3 separate regions of the Homo sapiens genome follow, and all the other regions are linked to region 2. The links are contacts of gene promoters, found by promoter capture Hi-C in blood cells and fetal thymus (Javierre and others, 2016). All regions are on one chromosome and are shown on one strand. The core of a region is centred on a gene start or on the middle of the fragment in contact, and the rest is flanking DNA. Distances in the headings are between cores, read along the strand shown. Region 1 overlaps ASB7 (ankyrin repeat and SOCS box containing 7). Region 2 holds the start of ALDH1A3 (aldehyde dehydrogenase 1 family member A3). Region 3 overlaps LOC105371024 (a long non-coding RNA gene).

Region 1 (4,685 bases), core at 1,730-4,229, 230 kb after region 2:
AATAACACAAATCAAGCCAGAATACGTTTCTGAGGGCATCCTCTTAGATGCCTAATGCCTCTGGGACCTTTTCCATTGTTACTGACACTTTATCATATCCGTGTTTACACGGCAAACATATGCCCAATCAACCCAGAAAATAATTGTCCTGAAGAGCCTCACTGTATATAACCTTAAAATGGGAAATGTTTAATTAGCATATTAGAAATTAGCCAGACTTATAAATGTGTACCCCTTAAAGATTTTACGCTTAAAAAGTTTTTTTTTTAAACTGGGAAGAAAAGAAACACCATGAAGCCACCCCAAATTATTGAACCATTAAAGCCAAATGATTTAACAATTTTTAAGGGAAGACTCGACCACCAGGGTACAAAATTTTCTGCTTAAAGTGAAGTCAAAGACATAGCTTCAGATGGAAATTGCAACTGACATACGATGGCTCTGCAGTGACAACTGAAGCGGCGGCTCCTGTCCTCACGGGCATGTCAAAGCTGGCTGTGAAATGACGACCAGCAAGTGAAATAATGGATAAAATACACCAGAAGGAGTATTGCACTGCAGGCACAGTTTTAAAAACAGAATACACTGGCTTCACAAAGTTATTTTCTTTCCCGTTAATTTTTTTAAAAGTACAACTCTAACTAGAGATAGAAATCGAGATGCAGTGTCTCAGGGTAGTGTACTACAGTTGTTAAAAAAAAAATAAGTTAAAAACAAGAGCACAGCAAAAGAAAAGCAGAGGTACTGGATTTATGTCATAAGCAGAGATACTGGATTTATGTCATCCGAAAGCTACATTAATTAGGAAAAAGAACAGTTTGAAACGGCCAGTTTGTACTCATTAAAAATGAATGAGGTGACAGCGTTACTTCAAACATTTCTTAGGGCATTTTCCAAAAGAACCCAGGGTCGCCCTGGGTGAAACTGTGCCTCCAAACGTTAACAAGTGCTCTGCTGGTTTAGAATACCGTGCTTACCAAGGAACCATAAATTTGGAAAGGGTAAATTCTCCACTCTAAACCTGCTTGTGTCATTTAAGAAAAGACAATTTTTCTAAATGCAGTATTGTATACAAAGCTTGGACCTCTTAAACTTGGACCAAGAAACCAAATTAAGACCTTCAAGCATGTGGTGTGTGTTTTTATATATATATAAAAAATCCCTCCCCTACAATGAAAACCAACCAAACAAACAGAAAACCCAAAAGTGTATACCTGCTTTCTGATTTCACAGCAAATCAGAAATTGCATAGGATATACTTTGTGCAAGGCAAAAAGCCTTTTAAGTATCTAGAATAGAACTCCTAATCTTGCTCACAGTTCTGGCATATCAGATATCATCAAATTTGTGTTTTAAGTAGTCTTTCATGACCTTGGCAATTGGTAGTTCATCAAGTAGCTTTAGGTTTTGAAGGCCTATACATTGTCGAATTTTAATTCGGCACAGGTCCTGCAAGTTTCTGGGCTGTCCTAAAAAGACAGAAAAAAGAAAATGTTACAAAGCCACAAAGCACAATATTTAAGGCACTTTTGAAAAGAACTGTTCATTTCCCTGGAAGTTCTCTCTATGGACTTGACATGCAAAGGACCGGAAAGATACCAACTCAAAGTGTCCTAGGACCTTCATGCGATGCCTTATTTGATCCTTTTCACAACCGTGGGATGGTGGATATTTTCAACTCCATTTTACCAATAAGAAAACTGAGTATCAGATGTAAACAAGTTGCTTAATATCAGACAACCAATTAAGGCTTTCAACTGAGACCAAAAACAGTTTTGATTCTAAGCCTCATATCCTTTCTGTTATAAATCAGGAAAATTCTGGTTCTCGTCCTGACTAGGTCTCTCTCACGCTGGGTGAGCCACTGTGAGCCAATCATTCCTCTGAGCCTTGGCTTCTCAATCTGAAAAGTGTGGGGACTGAAAGAGATGTCCCCTATTGTGAGCCTCCCTTTCAGCTCTGGGTCTAGGACACTGGAGCCCGGACACCCACCACGGTCTCTGTGGAGCTTTCCAAACAAGCTTTCCAGATCTGCTCACCTGTTTTCCGTGATTCTGAACACAGCAGAACCTTGGTTGTAAGGCTGACAGTTGAGGAGTGCAGCAGAAGGGGGTGTGAAAAAGCGCCTCAAGGTATTCTGAATCTACATCGCTTCAAGCTTCCACACCCTGATCACTTGCCAATAAAAACCCGTTATATCTCAATTCAAAAGAAAAATCACAAAATCCTATTTCTTTCCCTTTGGAATATTTTGTTTTACAAAAACAATACAGATGGCTCCAAAAACAAGGAAGAATTCTTCAACTGTGCTTCAGTAGTGTTTGGAGTCAAGGAAGTTTTGCTTTCATATTAAACATGATAATAAAGCTAATATATATTGAATACTTACTCTGCGCCATGTATTGTTAAGAGCTCATGACATGTATTAACTCCTTTCATCCTTTTACGAGGGAAGTACTTTGATCATCATCCCCATTTTATAGAGTCTCAGAGAGATTAAGTAACATGCTTAAAGTCAAGTTGAATGCCATTTTTCAGTCATTCTCAAACTTTTTGTTTTCAAAACTCCTTTACACTTTAAAAAATTATTGCGAACCCCCAGAAACTTTTATGTGGGCTATCTCTATAGTAAATGCCATATTATAAGTTAAAACAGACATTTTAGAAATACTTTTAAATTCATTCTAATAAACCATTACATGTTAACATAAATAACACATCATTATGAAAAGTAACTATATTTTCCAAAACCAAAAAAAAATTTAACAAGAACGTCATTCTTTCACATTTTTGCAAAGCTTTTAATGTATGGTTTAATAGATGATAGCTGAATTTTCATATATGCTTCTGAATTCAATCTGTTGAGATAAGTCACATCAATCACACCACCTCGTCTCTGGAAAAAACTGACACTCATGATAAAAGGAATGAGAGAAAGGCAAATCATGTCTCAGTGTTATTATGAAAATCAGGAGGAGACCCATGGAGAGAAAACAGAGTCCGGGATTACACCGCAACTTCTCGCTTACCTGTGCAGTGTAATTTTGAGCTGTCTCTTTGTAGTCCTAAGAGACAGGAGCTCCCGTTCTCAGCCTACTAACCCATAACTGTGGGCAAGTCGTGTACACTCCCTGACATGGCTCAGCTGCAAACAAGCTTCTACACTGATCACAAGAAATAGGCCATCAATGATGTTGCCTTCTCAATCCCTGCTGTCTCTTAAAGTGTTGACCTTAGTAACATCATCAATTAATTACTAAAGGGCAGAAATGAGTTCCACAAATATGTGGAGTTTGATTTCCTTATTAAGGGTCAGTTTCTGTGAATGCCCTTGGTCAAACACATGGAACGGGAGAACACCTCCTTAAAAGAAGTTGTGGAAAGAGAATACGCGGAGAAGTACACCGCACCCCAACCAGAATGAAGTGTCCTTGATGAGTGGACCAGTTCAATTCAAGGGACAGAGGTATGGATCTTGACTGGTTCTTATGATGAGACTTCTCGAATCTGGTCCTTGGAAGGAAAGTCAACATTGACAATTGTGGGACACATGGATATTGTTAACAGATGTGGCCTGGGTGACAAAAGACAGTTTGTGTTACTATTGAGTGGCTCTATGGATCAGACTATTCTCTTATGGGAGTGGAATGTCCAGAGAAACAAAGTGAAAACCCTATGCTGCTGCCCAAGTGTAGATTCCACAGCTATTGATAGCTCAGGAACTAAATTTTGCAGTGGCTCCTGAGATAAGATGCTAAGGATCTGGTCTACTGTCCCTACAGAAGAAGATGAAATGGAGGAATCCACAAACTGACCAAGAAAGAAACAGAAAACAGAGCAGTTGGGACTAACAAGGACTCCCATAGTGACCTTCTCTGGCCACAAGGAAGCAATCTCCTCAGTGCTGTGGTCAGATGCTGAAGAAATCTGCAGCGTATCTTGGGACCATGAAATTAGCGTGTGGGATGTCGCGTTTGGCAATCTTAAGTCAACTTTACAGGAAATAAAGTGTTTAATTGTATTTCCTATTCTCCACTTTGTAAATGTTTAGCATCTGGAAGCACAGATAGGCATATCAGACTGTGGGATCCCCAAACTAAAGATGGTTCTTTCGTGTTGCCGTCCCTAACCTCACATACAGGTTGGGAGACATCAGTAAAACGGTCTCCTACCCATGAACCACAGCAGATTTCAGGATCCTTATATAACACCGTCAAGCTGTGGGATTCAAGAAGTTGTAAGGCTCCTCTCTATGATGTGGCTGCTCATGAAGAGAAAGTTCTGAGAGCAGACTAGACAGACACAGGGCTCCTTCCGAGTGGAGGAGCAGATAATAAACTGTATTCCTACAGATATTCCGGGGGGCATGAACTCGAATGATAATTTGATTATAGAGATTCTTTCTATAAATGAAAATTGGTAGAGAATCATGAAATTACATTGATGCAGATGCAGAAAGCAGCCTTTTGAAGTTTATATAAAGTTTTCACCCTTCATAACACCTAACATATCACTGTCTTTTCTTATTTTGTATTTATAATACAAAAGTTCGTGTTTATAAAACAGAAACTGTGGCTTGCATTCTCTATTTAAAAAAGAAAAAAAGGGAAGAAATCATTTTGACCTCACAGTTACCCTAAAAGGGTCTTGGGGACTCCAGGGCCCACTAGACCATACTTGGAAAA
Region 2 (4,864 bases), core at 2,186-4,685:
GGGGCCCATTTGTAGAAAGATGAAATTTCGTGGGTTAGATAATAGAGACTGTCAGTGAAAATTGCTGATTCTAGGTCCTTCCTGGTATCAACTCCAAGGGGGAGGGAAAATGAGAAGGTGGCAGAAGAGAATATAAATAAGGGGGCTGAAAACAGATTACAATGATCGGATGTCTGCTATACTGCTATACTTCATCTCCAAGCATGCTCCTCCAAAAAAAATTACTGTTTGTTCATGACATTGATCTGTAACCAGCAACCTTAAAAAAAAATCAGACTGTTTGACTCTAACCATATTTTCCCATCACTATGTTTTTAATTTTGTAAAATCTTTTACTTTATACCACACTACAGTAGTAAGTAATCTTGTAAGTGGTTTCTACTGTTGATTTTTCTCTCCATTAAAACAAAACAAAAGCACAAATATAAGGAAAGGGTATATAAATATGGTCTACTGATTATGCTGGCTGTATTGTTTTGAACTCCAAATCAGGGTAAAGGGTCTAGAAGGAATTGTTGTCTTTGATTTGTGGATTAGCATACAACAAACCTTATAGAGGTATAGCATTAAGCTACATTGAGCTGTAGACCTGGTTCACATTTTACAAAAGGAACAGAATGACATGGAAGCAGGACGGAGCTGTAAGGTGTCTCAGGCAGAGGTGAAGATGACAGTCATACAAGTGAATCCTATTGATGCCGATTTCCCGTAACTTCCATCTGACAACAGGCCACTCAGCTAAACTCAAAAAGAATATGTTTTCAGAAAAGGAGATTTGGGGGAATTTTATTTTTCATAAGAGAGATAATAAAAACCGGTGTTTTAAAAATCAGAAAACTTTGAAGAGAATCCCTGCTACTGGAAGAAATTTTATAAGGAAAGAAAGAGGCCCTCTAAATTAGAAGGGACTTCTATCCTCTGAGATCTGTGTGGGGACCCTGGAGGGGCTCTCAGCTCTCCAGAATCACACAGCATGACCCTAGAGAATGAAATGTTAACATGTGAGGACAAATGAAGGGGCTTTGACAAAGTCATCCTGAAAGTTGGACCACCCTGGGAAATGGCACTGCCGGGGCTAGGGCTCAGATGGACCAACTCTGGTGTGTGCCCCATTATCGAGAAGCACCATGAGTCAATTTTGGAAAATAGCAGACCACTGCTGGCTCCCATGCTCCACCGTCTGCTCTCCTGCCAGGCCACCCACCTGCCGGGCCACTCGCCCACTCTGGGCCTCAGTCCTGCACTTCAGTTTATCCCGCTCCTTCCCTCGGCAGGCACTCTTGGTGGCCTCACTCTCGGCCGCCTCTCCAGTCCAGTCTCCCTGAGGACTGTGCCAGGGCACTGGTTGGCCACCCTCAGCCACACAAGCTGCCTGGGTCCACAACTGCTATGGGGAGGTCTCTGCAGAGATGGGCCAGGAGCCAGGACAGAGCAGGCAGCAGCACAGTCCCCCAACGGGTGAGGAGCCAGCAGCCGGTGTCAGGCAGTTGGGGCCTTTATCGCCTGGGAGACCACTCAAGATCCCAGCACTCCAGGCCGATCCACCAGCTTCCCTCAGCCTCATTCCTGCACTGGTTCCCTTTAACTGGCAAAGGTTGCGCACCCACCAAGACAACAGGCAACCATTGCTCTGTGAATTGTCTAAGGTCTCCATAAGGGCTACATCTACACTTTAAAAGTGTCCTAAAAATCATAGAGAAAGAGGTAAACTTTTTGTATGTGGTCAGATTGCTGATAGGACTCAAAAACATAAAAAGTAAAAGGACCATAATACATTTACTGTCTGGTTTCTATATACAGTATTTTGAAATCCTGTACAACCAAAAGAAAACAAACAACCTCCCCACTTAACCATCAGTAGCAGCAGCCAAGCACCTGGGGTTAGGGTCTTACAAAATTCGGGTACCATTTTCACTCTTCCCAGAATTCGTGTTGGAATTTTCACTCTGAAGCTGATATTACAAATAAAACTACATTAAGAATAATTTCCAGCGTTTAGTTTACAGCGACGTGTCTTTGTTGATTACAGAGCCTTCTGAAAACAGTTAATTTAAATGTCTTGTGATCAGAGGCTCAGCCGACATTGGGAATTAAGTGCCAAGAGACCCAAATCTGAAGGCCACACATAGTGCCCTGCAACTTTCTCCGCTTGATTAAAATTCTTTGAGAAAGATAATTGCTACTTCTTAAAGTAAAACGGATGAGGAAATTCTCTAAGTGCGGTGTCAGCTGGAGTTGGGGGCTATGGGTAAAAGCAAAAATCAAGAGAAGCCAAAGGTGGGGAAAGTTAAGGCAATGGCTCTCGGCCTGGCCTGTGCCTCTAAAGTGCCCCAGCACCGGCCCACGACAGACGCGCACGCCAGACAGCCTGGGGGTGTCCTCCATCGGGTCGCGCTCCCGGACCCGGGTCTCTCGGCCCTCCTCAGCCCCAGCTCAGAGGCCTCGGAGGCCTCACCATCTTCTTTTATTCCTTTCTGCCCCGGGCAGGTAATCTCGCCGTTCTGCCAACGCTGTAGCCTCCCAGCCCACAGAGCGAGGAGGCAGAGAACCGTGCGCTTCTGCGGCCTCGCGACCCACCGCTTCCCAAAGGCCCAGGTCTGCGACCTTCCGGAGCGCGCGCCTTGTGTGTAAACACCGGGACCTCTGGGCTCCGGGGAGGTTTCGTCAGTAAGCGAGCACCTTCCTACTCCTCCTCGTTCTGCTGCTGAGCCGGGTATAAACTAAGCACGGAAGGCGCCCGCTGCGCTTTGCTCGGAGGACCCGCTTCCCCAGTCTTCCAACTGCAGCTCCGCCATCTGCCTCCCGGACTCTCTCTTGGCGCTCTCGGACCCTCCGACCCTCTCAAAGCCAGACTCGTCCACCCTGGAAATCATCGCAGGGGTTTTTGGGGAGGGAGCTCCCCAAAACCAGCGCGCTCCGAGTCAACGCGGCGCGCACCTCCACTCGCGATCAAAGCGGGCAGCGCAGGGACACGTCGGGGCCTCGCAGGGATGCGGGCGGCCCGGCCCCGCGCGGGCGCTGGACGGCCTCGGTTTCCCGGCTTCGAGGCTCACAGCGCCGAGCCCCGCCGCCTGCGATCCCGCCCGAGACGTCCCGCGAAAGGTGCGGTTTCTGGAGAGCCGCGCCCGGGCAGGGAGGCTCGGGTCTCGGCGGCGCCCGGCGGACCCCCGGCCCGCTGCTCCCTCGCCCCCGCCGCCCCGAGTCTGGCTGCCCAGCGCAGGGGCCCGCGGCCGTCGGGTGGGAGGGGCGCCCGCCTCACCTTGGTGAACTTGACCTCCAGGTTGCGGATGGGGCGCGGCAGGGCCGGCGGCTTCCTGTCCGGCTGCCCGTTTTCCACGGCCCCGTTAGCGGTGGCCATGGCTCCTCCGCGCTCCCTGGCCCGAGGCGCCCTAGTCTGCGGCGCACCGGCTCGGCCCGGACACTGCGCAGCCCGCTCCCGGGGTGGCAGCTCCCCGCCGCTTTATGCAGCGCCCCACGCCTCCCGCCCGAGGGGGCCGCCTAATTGGCTGCGGGACCGGAGGAAGGGAGGGCGGGCTGCGGGAGGGAGGAGAGGGGAGGGCGGCCGGCCCGCCTCACCCCGCCCCGCCCGCCGCCCCTGCGGGAGCCCGAGCGCCGGCGGCTCCACCCGCGTGCCGCGGACCGTCCCGGCGCCCGCGCCGCGCGCTCTCTCGCCCCGGAGGCTGCCTGTGGACGAGCTCCCCGAGGAGCCGCCGGGCCCCGGAAGTCGCAGGGCTGGGACACCCGACCCGGCAGGGAGCTGAGCCGCGGGGCCACGGCGCCCCGCTGCCTCCCCGAAGTCGGGCGGGCTCCCCGCGCGGCACATGCAGCCCACTCCCAGCCGCCGCACGGCGCGCTCGCCCGACTTCGGCCGGCTCGCGGCGCTCGGGAATGCGCGCTCTCCGCCGGGCCCTGCGCCGCGCCCGGGTCGGGGCTCCTGGCGGGGCCGCCCCGCGTCGCTGCGCACGTGCCCTGCTCTTGGGTCCAGCCGCCCGATCCCCGCTAGCAGGACAGACGCCCGCTGCGCCCCACCCTGCCCGAGCGCGGACAGCCGGCGGGCGCACCCCGGCCCAGCCGGCCTGGAGTCTCCCCGGGGCCCTGGGGCTTCGCCCGCGGTGGGGCAGAAGGCGAAAGCAAAGCGCCGGACCCGGGCGGCTCTCCGCCGAGGAGCCCTGGCGCCGCTGGGCCTCTGACCTTCGCAGGCGCACACCGCCTTCCATCCCAGAGCCCGGGGGGCAATTGATCTGATTTTTTAAATGCATAAATTATACCTCGATTAAAAAATGATAATTAAAAAAAAGCACATGAGACCTTTGCTGCTAATCGTTTTAAGAGTTTAAATTCTTGTCGCGCATTACTTCCCAGGAGGGGGAGGTAAGTCTAGCTCCTCTCCTTTTGCGATTTGGGAAACGCTCCATCAACTCCCAGGACTTGACCCAGGCCCCATCTGAGACACGGAAGCGGCTTCTGATGCATGCCATTCCTCAGGTCGCTGGAACAAAGACCGGAGGCACGGACTCCTGACAAAAGCTGTGCTTTAATCCTCAGATAGGCTCAGCCCCTTCAGTTCATCTCTTTCTGTAGGTAACCCCAAGTAATCAACAATGGGGAGGGGTCTCCTTATTTTCCTGTTTTGAGGCCTCCGTGTCCATCTCTCTGTCCCCTGGTGTCCTTCTGGATAGAGCTGGATAGAGGGGTAAGTTTTGAAGCTTTTGGAAACCCCACATCTGACCCTTACCCTGGGGTTGTGGAAAGGTCTTGTGCTGTTATGGCCTGGAGTGCACAGCTGAGGCCGGGGAAAGGGGATAATGGACCCTCGAGCGGGGCAGCCTTGACCGATATCGGCTGGCTAACACTGGCGAGTCTG
Region 3 (4,893 bases), core at 1,535-4,034, 160 kb after region 2:
AGGAGTTTCAGCAAATTGTCTGAGCCCCATGGTGAGTCAGTGAGGGCTGGGAAACTGGAGCCCTGCTATCCCTAAGGCTCCTGTATTCCCTGTAAGGAAGTTCTGGCATCGCCTAGAGAGAGAGTATTCTCTCACTGCTCACCACCCACCCCCACCCCAACCCAGCCCCTGAAAACACCCATGGGGCCTGGTAAACCATGAATCTCTCCCAAGTGTATCACGAGCTGGGCCCCATCTGCAGCAGGCATCCCCGGAGGGTTACATGCGGGTCCTGGTGATGCGGTGGGGCTGGCTGGTGGTCCACGCCATGAGGAGTGACCACATAGACCACCCTGCCCTCTGCCTACTTCCCAAGCTTAGAGTCCGCAGGAGGCCTGGGAGGCCACAGTGCCCAAATGGAACCAGGTATAGGCTACTTCCCTCTGATTGCTTTCAAGAAATCTGTGACCTCTGATCCATTCTGGGCTGGCCTCATTTAGGAGGTCAAGTTTCATGTCCCTTTTAGGAACAACCATGAGTCCCAGGCTGCCTCTGGCCCCTCCTGGCTTCTCTTCCTTCTGCAAGCATCCCTTGACAGAAGCTGGTGGAAAGCAGCTTGTCTGTTCTTGTGGGGCAGCCTCCAGGCATGGCTGCTTCAGCAGGGGCTCCACTTGCCCCTGTTAGCAGCTCCCCACACCCCCGATCCCATTCCCCTTAACCCAAAACTTCAGGAGCTCTGGGTTTACTCAGTCCAAAGGGGTCAGCCCTGTGCCACTGGAGTGTCTCCAGCCCACCTGTGGCCTTGGCCTCTGTGGCTATGTCCCCAAGGTGCAACAGAAGAGGCCGAAACGTTCTACAGAGTTCACTGCATGGTACCACGCACTGCAGTGATGACCTTGAGGATCCAGGCCCAAGAACAGGTGGAGGGGCACCCAGGGCTCAGGTCCATGTGATTCACTCAGGCTCAGCCATTGTTGCAAAGTCCCTCCAGGCCAGCTTAGCTTCCCGCCTGTACCTTTGTAGTCATGCTACAGCGTGGAAATACATGTGAACATGGCATGGTCTTTGGTCAGTGAACACACTGCTCCGGGGTCTCCCTGTGCACACTGCTACACTCTGTTTCCCATCTCTTGTTCAGTTCAGAGCAGCTGCATGTCTGACTTCCAACAAAGGAATGTGGGGAAAATGACGGGAGCCACCTCCAAACCATCCATGAAAACCTCCCACACAAGACTCCATGACCTCTCTCCATCTGCCTGCTGAATAGGGAAGCCCCTGAGGACTAGAGAGGGCAGGGCACAGGACAGAAGCACCGCGGGTCCCTTCCCTGGGTTGCCACTGAATAAGAGCCACCTGGGAGAGCCTTCCAGCCCAGCCAGGATCCCCCATGTGGGACCACTGCATCAGTGAAAAGAAAATTCCAGTGCTTTAAGCCAGGGGTCAGCCAACTGCAGACTGCAGGCCAAATCCAGCCGCCTGCCTGTTTTTGTATGGACTTTTGTATGTGAGCTCAAAATGGGTTTTATGGGTTTTTTTGTTTGTTTGTTTTTGTTTGTTTTGTTTTTTTTGAGACAAAGTCTTGCTCTGTTGCCCAGGCTGGAGTGCAGAGGCCCGATCTCAGCTCACTGCAACCTCCACCTCCCAGGTTCAAGCGATTCTCCTGCCTCAGCCTCCCAAGTAGCTGGGATTTCAGGCCTGCGCCACCACGCTTGGATAATTTTTGTATTTTTAGTAGAGACGGGGTTTCATCATGTTCATCAGGCTGGTCTTGAATTCCTGACATCGTGATCCACCCGCCTCAGCCTCCCAAAGTGCTGGGATTACAGGCGTGAGCCACCGCGCCCGGCCAGGTTTTATGTTTTAAAAAAGGATTTAAAGAATAGGATTTTGTGACACAGGAAAATTATATGAAATTCAAATTTCAGTGCCCTTACATAAAGTTTGATTGGAGCACAGTCACGCCAGTTCATTTACATCCCATCTGTGGCTGCTTTCACAGGACAACAGCAGCGGTGAGAGTTGCAAGACCGTATGGCCTGCAAAGCCTAAAAGTATTTCCCCCCAGTCCATACAGAGAGTTTGCCAACCCCTGCTTTCTTCTGTCACTAGGATTTGAGGGTTGTTTGTTACAGAAGTGAGCTTATCCTGGCTAACACAATTAAGTGACATGATAAATATTTTTTTTTTTTTGAGATGGAGTCTCACTCTATTGCCCAGGCTGGAGTGCAGTGGCACTATCTCGGCTCACTGCAACCTCCGCCTCCCGAACTCAAGCGATTCTCCTGCCTCAGCCTCCTGAGTAGCTGGGATTACAGGTGCCTGCCACCACACCCAGCTAATTTTTGTATTTTTCGTAGAGATGAGGTTTCACCACATTGACCAGGCTGGTCTTAAACTCCTGACCTTAAGTGATCCACCTGCCTTGGCCTCCCAAAGTGCTGGGATTACAGGCATGAGCCACCATGCCCAGCCATGATGAAGATTTTTAAGACTTTGAGATGTAGGGCAAAATTGCCTTTTGGAGGATTATGTTAACTTATACACTCCCACCAAGACTTATGAGCAGGACAATTGCCCCACTCTTTTGCCAATCCTGGGCATGTGACATACCCTCACTAGAAAACAAGAATAATGATTCCACCTGCCTAGGGCTATGGGGGAGCCGAAATGAAATAGTCTGTGACATAGTAGGTGCCCAGTAAATATCACTATTGACCTTTGGGTGCTGAGAGGTCCTTCTCACAAGAGTGAGATCATAATACATGGATGTTTTTGATGCCTAAGTCTGGCCCCACAAGGAGGATCTTCTGATGCGTCAGGCGCATTGCTTTGAGAATGTCTGTGGATGGTACTCTCTCCTTCTGATGCCCATGTCATTAAGTGGCCCTGTGACGATATCAGAACTGCCTGTTCTTTTCTTTATTTCTTGGGTTTGCACAACTCATCCAGGCTGTTAGAAGTGGAATGCGATTAGATGAGGAAAAGAAAAAAAAAAGCCCTGAGCACTTCTGCCAAGGAGAATTATACAGGTACTAGATCAGCACTCTACTCTGATAGAATGAGGAAACCCAAAGGCAAATTGGCACAGCCCTTTAAAAAACAAAGAGCGCTGTGTCCCCTTTGAAAATTCCTGCTGGTGATATGGCCAAGAAGAATTCGGGAAGATGAGAGGCAGTGACCAGACCACCTGAATTCCAGCACACTCCCTGGTTAAGAACTAATGGAAGTAAGGAAACTATTTTTGGAAGCTGGTTAAATATAAAAAGCAGAGACATGGATGGAAATTATATCAGACGACATCCACCATGCTCTCAGGAAAGTAAAAAGGAGAAAGGGGAGAGGGTAGAGGCAGTGTGACATGCTGCAGCCAGCACCCATGGTCCACAGGGCCCAGCTGTTAAATATTTAAGAACTTCGTGAACCTGTTGTTTAACTGTTGGGAAATTAAAGTCAGCCATGGTGGAAGTATGTACACCACAGAAATTGGCAAAAGCCACAGATCAGGGCTTTGTGACTTTTTTCCCCAGAGTTCCAATTTACCAATACACCCCTGGGTAGAGGGAGAAGAGGGGAATGAAGGCAATGTTCCATCAGGAAAGGAGCCTCAACTCAGAGGAGGAGAAGCAGCAAAAAGGAAGAGCAATAACCTTAGTTTTTTTTTTCCCTTAGGGAAAATTTTCAGATATGGCCCAGACGGGTTAAGTGACTTGCCCAAAGTTACACAGCTAAGAAGTTTTAGAGCTAGAATTTGAACCCAAGTATTTCTGGTAATGATGATTTCTTTCAGTTTCTTTTTTCTTTCACTATCTCAACAACTGATTAATGAATTAATGAAAAGGAGTCACCTGTTTGAAAAAAGTGTCTTTAGGGTCAGCTGCCTGAAAAATTCTGAATTCATGGGTTAGAATCACATGTTTGCTTTTGGCTTGGTTACCAATGGCTTTGTTTTCACAAACCAAATACACTCTCAAAGGACCCAAATTTGCTATCTTTAAGGATTTTCTGTATGACTAATCCTGCATGTATAATCCTGGAAGCCAGTTCCAAAGATTGGTTTTGAGAATGCTTTGGTGTTATCTCCTGAGTAATGAGTAATCTCTCAAGAAGTCCAAGTGCAAAAAGAAACACTCGCTTAGAGGCCAAATTCCAGGTATAGTCACTGGATCAAGGGACAAGATGGCGAGTTTGAAGCGGGGGCCTACCATCTACTGGCTCTCTCACACTTCTTAAAGGACCCATTGGCTGGTGTCAGGGAGGTCGGGGAAGGAAGTTAAGGAGAGCTGGAAACATCCCAGGCTTCTGTTTGCATTTCTTTGGCAAGGGGTTGCCACTTGTGTGGACAAGTATTATTAGGATGACCTACCTTGATTTAGCTAGTCAGGATAAATAAAAAACCTTCTTGGTTTTCATAAATACTGTGGCATTTTACAGTCATGACTCAGTGCTTCATCTGCAATCAAGATTCAGACACCAATGACCAATGGTTGGAAGTGATGATTCATTCAAACAGCACATTGATTTTGCAATAGACCGTGGAACTCTGTCCACATAAAACTCATTGTATTTCCCTGTCAGAACTCAGAGTCGTCAAGGCAACCTAGTCCTGCATGCCAACTCGTTCTGGTCCGTGTTCACGTTTTGTGCTCACGGTCCTGTTCCTGTCGGTTTGAGGAGTGGAAAGTTCCCTGACATCAGCACTGCTAGCTCGTCCTCTTCAGGGGCTGATACTGCAGCTGGCTGACTCTTGACAGCAGGTGGTTCTCCCCATTTGGGCAGGGCTTATGTTCTGCAAGGTTTATTAGGGCCAATTAGCTCCTCAGAAGGGTATTGCAAAAATAAAGTAAATTCAGGAGCTACCTCCCTTCAAATGGACACTGCTCTACCAACAAGCTATGGCACATCGAGGGCAGCGGC

What was found. Contacts are between HindIII fragments. The CHiCAGO score rates a contact against its expected background, and 5 or more counts as called.
Region 1: a contact is called between a fragment that was not itself captured here and the fragment with the promoter of ALDH1A3 in region 2, in 5 of 17 cell types (M1 macrophages, endothelial precursors, M2 macrophages and 2 more). The highest score is 11.7, in M1 macrophages.
Region 3: a fragment that was not itself captured here is called in contact with the fragment with the promoter of ALDH1A3 in region 2 in 1 of 17 cell types (endothelial precursors); the score reaches 6.9 in endothelial precursors.

Annotation. Positions count from the first base shown.
Region 1 is chr15:100,645,107-100,649,791 of GRCh38, reverse strand. ASB7 (ankyrin repeat and SOCS box containing 7) reads right to left here. Exons shown (of 6, transcript NM_198243.3): 6 at 1-1,469. The coding sequence ends at 1,330. It also overlaps the pseudogene WDR12P2. Among named protein-coding and RNA genes, the nearest start is that of ASB7, 45 kb to the right of the region's middle. The HindIII fragment of the contact is 358 bases long and covers 2,801-3,158 here.
Region 2 is chr15:100,878,402-100,883,265 of GRCh38, reverse strand. It overlaps ALDH1A3 (aldehyde dehydrogenase 1 family member A3), which reads right to left and starts at 3,435. Exons shown (of 13, transcript NM_000693.4): 1 at 3,260-3,435. The coding sequence starts at 3,358. LOC124903575 (collagen alpha-1(I) chain-like) reads left to right here and starts at 3,463. Exons shown (of 1, transcript XM_047433433.1): 1 at 3,463-4,320. The coding sequence starts at 3,463. The coding sequence ends at 4,245. RefSeq lists an enhancer at 2,389-2,903 and a silencer at 3,395-3,514. The HindIII fragment of the contact is 4,913 bases long and covers 1-4,708 here.
Region 3 is chr15:100,721,630-100,726,522 of GRCh38, reverse strand. All of the region lies in intron 1 of LOC105371024 (a long non-coding RNA gene), which reads right to left. Among named protein-coding and RNA genes, the nearest start is that of ASB7, 120 kb to the right of the region's middle. RefSeq lists an enhancer at 3,525-4,724. The HindIII fragment of the contact is 4,853 bases long and covers 358-4,893 here.